2 separate regions of the Homo sapiens genome follow, and region 2 is linked to region 1. The links are contacts of gene promoters, found by promoter capture Hi-C in blood cells and fetal thymus (Javierre and others, 2016). All regions are on one chromosome and are shown on one strand. Each heading gives the region's core, a stretch centred on a gene start or on the middle of the fragment in contact. The rest is flanking DNA. Distances are from core to core; before and after follow the strand shown.

Evidence for each region. Contacts are between HindIII fragments. The CHiCAGO score rates a contact against its expected background, and 5 or more counts as called.
Region 2: a contact is called between a fragment that was not itself captured here and the fragment with the promoter of PTPRE in region 1, in 6 of 17 cell types (monocytes, activated CD4 T cells, M0 macrophages and 3 more). The highest score is 8.1, in monocytes.

What each region holds. Positions count from the first base shown.
Region 1 is chr10:127,904,890-127,908,720 of GRCh38, forward strand. PTPRE (protein tyrosine phosphatase receptor type E) reads left to right here and starts at 2,214. Exons shown (of 21, transcript NM_006504.6): 1 at 2,214-2,420. RefSeq lists a silencer at 2,058-2,177. The HindIII fragment of the contact is 4,276 bases long and covers 1,089-3,831 here.
Region 2 is chr10:128,139,240-128,143,070 of GRCh38, forward strand. No RefSeq gene overlaps it. Among named protein-coding and RNA genes, the nearest start is that of MKI67, 15 kb to the left of the region's middle. The HindIII fragment of the contact is 6,764 bases long and covers 1-3,831 here.

The DNA of each region.
Region 1 (3,831 bases), core at 964-3,463:
AAAGGCAAGTTGTTTCTGTCTTCTTAGCTCACAGTCTCTGCCTCCTCAGCCCTGCAGCGTTAACAAGCAAAACTGTGCTTAGCAGAGCTTTGTAATTATGGCCTTCATGTACATAAGCCTGACTCTGTAGACCACAACAGCAGAAAAATCCAAAGCCTGGTGACGTCATGTGCTACCTGGCCCCACCTCAACCTGGGCTGTTCCTTGGAGGTGCACTCAGGAGGGAGCCACCCGCCCTGCTGGGCTCCGAGGTGACCAGGCTGTCTGCTGCTGCTGGCTGGGGCCCATCCTCCTCTGCTCTGACAGCCCAGACGCCTTCACTGAGCACCTCCTGGCTACTGACGTTGCTTTAGGAGCTTGAGTCTGAGAAGCCATGGAGATCAACAGAGCCTAGGCTGCTGGAGCTTACAGCCCTGGGGGTAGGGGAAGAGGGCACGACAGACACAAAAGGAGCCAATAAACCCACAAATAATTCCAAACTGTGATGGAGGATGTGGAAGAGAGTGGCAGAAGAGATGGATGCAGGGCGATCTTCCAGAAGCCACCAGTAAGAAGGAACCAGGTGCACTGGTTGGAGGAGTCCCAGGCAGGAAGGAGCTTGGCTCTGGCACTGAGAGAAAGGAGCCGTGATTGGAGCCCAGCGGGCAGGGGTGAGAGGCTCAGAGCAGCCAGGGAAGTCAGGCAGAGCCTCGTGGGAGTTTGGGTTTTAATATTCCTGGAGGCTTTTAAGCAGGGGGCTAGCAGGACCCGGTTTACACTTTGTGAGGTGCCTGGGACCAAGTGTGAAGAATGGATCATCTGGGAGAGTGGGTCAGAAGCTGGGGAGCCACTGCAGGTTTTGGAGGGGCGCAGGCAGTGAGATGAAAGGGCAAGATGCATGGAGAAGCCAGTGGGAAGTGGACTTGGGCCCTCTGGGAGGTGGACTTGAGGTGGGACACGGAGGCAGGGACAGGGACGACTGCAGAGAAACTAAGTAAGAGCAAGAGGCAGGTCTGAGACAGCAGGAGACAGCCAGGAGGAGCTGAGCTTGGAGGAGAGGGCCCCAGAGTGGTGCTGCTTAGAGTCATTCCCATACGGATGGTGTTTAAAGCTTTGGGGCTAGACAAGGCCCCCAGGGACAGAAATGGGCAGGGCAGGGCAGGGAGGTGGAGCTCAAGTTCTCCACTGGTTTCGCAGCTCTCCGGCCCCTGTGGAGGGGAAGTCCCACTCTGGGCAAATCACGTGGGGGTGGCCTCTGCCAGGAGGCACCCATTGCTCTGCAGCCTTTGGGGTCCGTAGCTCTGTCTAAACAGGCCTTAAGTATGCTAAGAGTCGTCGGCTGGCAATCGGTGCAACGTGGGGTAACACACCGTAAGTGCCACTTTCTCCCCATCCATTCATTCATTCATAAGCCTAATGAGCTGGGTCCCTACCACAGAATGCAGCTTCCCTCATGAGGGCTGGGCCGTGGCCCCATCCAGAGGGCACGGCACAAAGGTTCAGAACCAACATGCCACCAGTGTCTTTTCTGCTCCTTCCAGGGAACTGCCTTTTCTCTGAAAGCTCCCTAAATAGCTTGAGTGAAATTCCCTGGAAGAAGTCGGCTAGACAGCAGGCCCAGTGCCTGGCTCTGTCGCTCTTCTTTCTCTTTGTGCGTTTTTAACTTTGACAGATACTGCCTTCGGGACAAGCGAGCCCTCTTCTACATCCCCCAGACAGGCGCCTTATCCCCTCCTCTTTCCAGAGGAGGCCACCAGGCCCAGCGACCTCACAGCTCTCCCAGCTTCCTCGCACCAGAAGCGCACGGGGTGCCCTGCGTGTCCCACACCTGCTGCAAGACCAGGGCGAGTCCCTAGTCAGGCCACTTCCTGGTGCACAGGGATAGGGCAGGGAGAGGCAGGGCCTTGCCTTTGCTCTCCACCAGGTGTGAGTGCCTGCCATACCCTGACCCTCTGTCTACGCACCTGGGTCCCGGCGGAGTGGCTGGACCAGGCCTCCCCGGAAGGGGCACCAGCCTTGAGTAAACGGATGCCCACAGTGTCTGGGTGCTCCCAGGGCAGGGCCGCAGGGCCTCAGGGCCATACCCGCCTCGCAGGTGGGGCGGGCGCCCTGGATGCGCTCCCCGCGCCGGGCACCAGGCGTCGCCCCCGCTCCTCGCAGCGCCCAGGCCCCCGCCCCCGCCGCGGAGCCACAGCCGGAGCTGGAGCCGAGGCGGCGGCGGGACGCGGCCGGCCGGACAAATTTCCTGCTAGGCTGCGGACAGCGGGCGGCAGGAGCCGGCGCGAGCGGCTTCAGGAACCCACGGCCTCTGCGCGTCCCCGCGACCCTTCTTCGCGCCCGGCGAAGACAGCCGGGCGCCCCGGAGGGCGGCGGGCAGGCGCCCGGGAGATGCGGAGCCTCCGCTGCAGCGCGATCTGCGCGACCAGACCGGCCCCCCCGAGGTGAGCGCGCGTGCGGACAGGGACCCTGCGCCCCTGTGGGGAACTGTGCACCCCGGGAGGCCCAAGCAGGCCGGGGCGCTGCCTCGGCCGCTGCCGCGGGAGGGAGGGGCCGCTCCGGGGCTCAGAGTCCGGACCCCGGCCCCGCCGCCCCCGCGGCGCGCCCAGTACCAGCGGCTGGGGCCCGTACGACCCCCGACCCCGGCCTGTGGCGCGTCCCCTCACCCGGAGTCCCCAGCCCAACTTGGCGACCACAGTGGCAGTGCTCACGCTCCCTCTCGGTAAACAGGAGGAGGGCGCGCGTGTCTGCGGGTGGCTACAGTGCGCGGGGGCCGGCGGCAGGGCGGCGTACGTGAAAGCGGGCGACACAGAGAGGGGGTGCAGGCCGCGCGTGGGGGGCTGCGCCCACTCGAGGCTGGAGGCTGGAGCCTTTGAAGAAAGTGGCTCGAGTTGTGCCAACTCTGGGAGGGGCCGGCGCTCTGCCAGGATGCTGCCCCGCAGCCGGGCGGGCGCCCGCGCCTTCCCAGGGAGGCAGGTGGAGCGGGATGCAGCAGCCGCCGGGGGTCGGAGATGCGGCAGGGAGACCCTGGCAGGTGGTCCAGGCTGGACTGCCGCGATTTGCAGGGTCGACGACCTCACAGGGCTCCTGAGCACAGATGCGAGCGCGGTGCCAATTCTGAGAGCTCCCGGGACCATCTGGGGAAGGCCGGGCAACCCACAGGATGGGGAGGCAGAGCCAAGCCGGATGGAGACCGCGCTGGACCTGACCTAAATTCCTTCCAGGCATGCAAACCTTTCCAGAAAGATTAGGCAATTATACTTGCAGAATTATGATATTGGTTTGTCTTGAGTCGTGACCATTCCATCAGAGTTTCAATCCAGGAAACTCAAAGAAAGAATACAGCTCTCTGCTTGTATTTTAGAGTGAATGAGCGTATAGGTGAGTTGAATGAACACCAGCAAAGAGTGATCACGTGATACAGAAATTACTGTGTCCATGTCCAGTCAGCTCTGCATTTGGCCCCAGGTACCCCTTGACCCAGGGCGTCTGGAGGTCTTTGTGTCCCAAAGATGGATGAAGTTCTGCCTCTGCACACTAACGACTCTTGTCCATTTAAACTGTGTGTATGTGGGTGGGGAGGGGGGGTGTGGAGGGTCGTTTCCAAAACTGGGATAATGGCCAGAGGAGGGCATGAAATGGTGGGGGCCAGTGGCTGGGGCAAGCGTCTGACCACCACGGTCACTCAGCCAGCATGGTATGGGCAGAGCTCTGTGGTGTGAACAGGGTTAGGGTCTGTACTTTCCAAGCACAGGCTCTTGGCATTTGGGGAGCAAAAGGTCAGAGGCGAGGTGGAGCAGGCCCAAGAGGTGGGGGCTGCGCTGTCAGTGAGAGAGGCCTGACGTACCACCCAGC
Region 2 (3,831 bases), core at 933-3,432, 230 kb after region 1:
AGTATCTTCTTTTACAAAAAACAGGATCAATTAATGCCTCAAAGTATTGTTCAAATAAATGAGTTATTCATGTCCTTCTTGTCTCGGCACCCAGAAATGCACTTGTATGGTAGCTTGCGATTGTTGTTTAAACCCACACTGACAGCCTCTATAGTCTCCTAACTTTTAAGTTACTATTCTGTTGGGTATGAGAAAGTGTTACCTAGATTAATCTCCTCATTCCACAAAGAGATAACAGTAGCAGTTCCACCAGAAGAGAAAATTCCTAAGACCACACTAAATTCACTAAGAGTTTATAGTAAGATTCCTTGTGTCTTTGTTGTGCCTGTTCCATCCTGTGATTTTTTATTTTATTTATTTTTTTTTTGGTGACAGAGTCTTGCACTGTCATCTAGGCTGAGTGTAATGCTGCAATCTCGGCTCACTGCAACCTCCACCTCCCGGGTTCACGCAATTCTCCTGCGTCAGCCTCCTTAGGAGCTGGGATTACAGGCGCCCGCCACCACACCAGGCTAATTTTTTGTATTTTTAGTAGAGACAGGGTTTCACCATGTTGGCCAGACTGGTCTCGAACTCCTGACCTCAGATGATCCACCTGCCTTGGCCTCCCAAAGTGCTGGGATTACAGGCGTGAGCCACCATGCCTGGCCAGTTTCCTCACACTTTTAAAATCACAGGATGGGCCAGCGCAGTGGCTCACGCCTGTAATCCCAGCACTTTGGAAGGCCGAGGCAGGTGGATCACCTGAGGTCAGGAGTTCGAGACCAGTCTGGCCAACATGGTGAAACCCTGTCTCTACAAAAATACAAAATTAGCGGGGTGTGGTGGTGGGTGCCTGTAATCCCAGCTACTGGGGAGGCTGAGGCAGGAGAATTGCTTGAAACTGGGAGGGAAGGTTGCAGTGAGCCAAGACTATGCCACTGCACTCCAGCCTGGCAACAAGAGCAAAACTCCATCTCAAAAAAAAAAAAAAAAAGTTTGAGGAAACTGTATAATCTCTTCTCTATAAAAATCTTGGGATTAGAAGAATGTCTCCTCCTAACCATGTCACCTGACCAAACACTTCGAAATTGGTTTCTAAATTATAAAATCTTGAATAGAAATATACAAAAGTGTCACTGTCTAATAACTAAAATGATTACCATTTGAGACCAAAATGTGTTGTTGTTGTTTTCCAAGAGAAAGGAAGCTAGAGAAAATGAACAGCTTTTTAAAACCCAGGGAGGTAATTTAATTTTTAGGTATCAGGACGTGTCAGCAAAAGAGAGACTGTCTTAATAGAACTGAGAAATTGTTTGGCAGGGGGTCATTATACATCAGTGCTTCTTAGCCACTGTTATTGACATTTCCCACCAAACAGTGCCTCACCGTGGGGGGCAGAGTCTTATTCACTGCCGGGCACTTAGCATCCCTGACCTCTGCTCACTGAAGACAGTGGCCAGCCTCTGCCTCATCCTGACAAAGAAAAAAATCTACTGTCCTTGCAAATCTCTCCTGGGGGGCAATATGGCCCTTGGTTAGGAACCAGTTCCATCTGCTGGTTTCAAAACCAAGTCTCCAGCTCACATTTCTGCTGGACAGTTAGTTACCAGAACGCTGAGTACTGATCATATCTTATATATAGAACACCAAACCTGGCCCCGCATACATAGGAACAAGATTGTCCTTGCCCTTGGGGAACTGAGTCTGGTGGGAGAAACAAACTCAAAATTCATTCCTGATGTTGTATGTTAAGAAAGACAAGTTTTCATTAATGGGTTCATCTGAGTTGACATTCATTTTGTTGCTATTTTTTGTTTTTATTTTTTTGAGACAGAATGTTACTCTGTTGCCCAGGCTGGAGAGCAGTGGTGTGATCTCGGCTCACTGCAACCTCTGCCTCCTGGGTTCAGGCAATTCTCCTGCCTCAGTCCCCCAAGTAGGTGGGATTATAGGCACAGGCCATGACACCTGGCTAATTTTTGCATTTTTAGTAGAGATGGGGATTCACCATGTTGGCCAGGCTGGTCTTCAACTCCTGACCTCAAATGATCCACCTGCCTCAGCTTCCCAAAGTGCTGGAATGGATTATAGGCATGAGACACCGTACCTGGCCTTATTTTATTTTTATAAATGGGATCTTGCTTTTTTACCCAGGCCGAACTCAAAATGCTCTGGGTTCAAGGGATCCTACAGCCTCAGCCTCCCCAGTAGGGGCTACAGCTGTGCAGATGTGAGGTGGAATTTCACTAAAATCTGAAGAAGAGAAATAAATCACTCAAGTAGGAGGGTGGGGAGAACTTTCCAGTGATGAAGTTCAAACAGTGTAAAAATGCCAAGGTGAACAAGGACTTGGAATGCTTTGGATGGGAGGAACAAGGTAGGGGATGGGGTTGGGAGGATGAGGCAAGGCCAGGATGGGTTTCAGGGCCTAGACCACACAGGGAGGGACCCCTTGTCAGGCCTCTGGAGGGGCACACGTTAACAGGCTGACAGCAGCACTGTTAGTAACTGTGCCTGTTATGCAGACACAGGGTTATTACCACCACCAAGCAGGAAGGCAAGAGAAGAGGAAACCTTCCCAAATCACAAAGAGGGGGACTTGTCCTCCCATTTTCTTATTTCCACAAAGAGCTGAGAGCCTTTCAAGGCCTCCTCTCTTCATTCTCGTAGTGGCCCTAAGTAGCCGGTGGTGCCCAGTGAGGAGAGATCCAGGTAAATACGCTGTCCTCTGAAGCCGCCTATAGCCAATTAGGTTTAACGTTATCTACCTCTTTTTCCGTTGCAAGATTTTTTTTTTAATCAAATCAATGTTAAAATTTTGGCTTGATTTAAACAATCATACACAGAGGGTGGGGGAAAAAAAGAAAGAAAACTTTGTAACTGTAAGCATTATTTTAAAAATTACATTTGGTCCTAAACACTCTCTTGATTCTGGTGATGGTTTCAAGAGCATTCAACTTTATTAAATTTTACACTTTGAACACATACAAAGTTTTCTGTATTCCAATTAGACCTTAATAAAATTGTGCTTAAAAAAATAAGCAAACCAAAACCAAAACAAACCAACAACAACAAAAAAAAACCCAAACAAAAAAACAAAACAAAACCAACCACCCTGTACACGCCATCTGGCAGGCTTTGGGAAATACGCATGGTCACCTCATAATCGTTAATCTATTAAGTCAGAGGGTGTGTACATGTAAAATTGTTATGTATATTCTTAAATTGCCATCTCCTCTGTTCGAGCTATGTTTTTCTCTTTCACCAATAAGGAAACATAGTATCATTTTTTTTGTCCACTGAAAGACTCAAGTGTGGCCGGGGAGCAGTGGCTCATGCCTGTAATTCCAGCACTTTGGGAGACCGAGGCAGGCAGATCACGAGGTCAGGAGATCGAGACCATCCTGGCTAACAAGGTGAAACCCCGTCTCTACTAAAAATTGTGTTTTTGGCCAGGCAAGGTGGCTCACACCTGTAATCCCAGCACTTTGGGAGGCCAAGGTGGGCAGATCACTTGACATCAGGAGTTTGAGACTAGCCTGGCCAACATGGTGAAACCCTGTCTCTACTAAAAATACAAAAATTAGCCAGGTGTGGTGGCACATGCCTGTAGTCCCAACCACTCAGGAGGCTGAGGCAGGAGAATAGTGTGAACCTGGCAGGCGGAGCTTGCAGTGAGCCGAGATGGCGCCACTGCACTCCAGCCTGGGTGACAGAGTGCAAAAAAAAAAACTCCATCTCAAAAAAAATAAATAAATAAATGAAAGAAAGACTCAAGTGTCTGGGATGCTGCCTCTATCCAGGCAAATTTTGTAAAGCACCTATGGACCCGCATCTTTGATCCGCCAT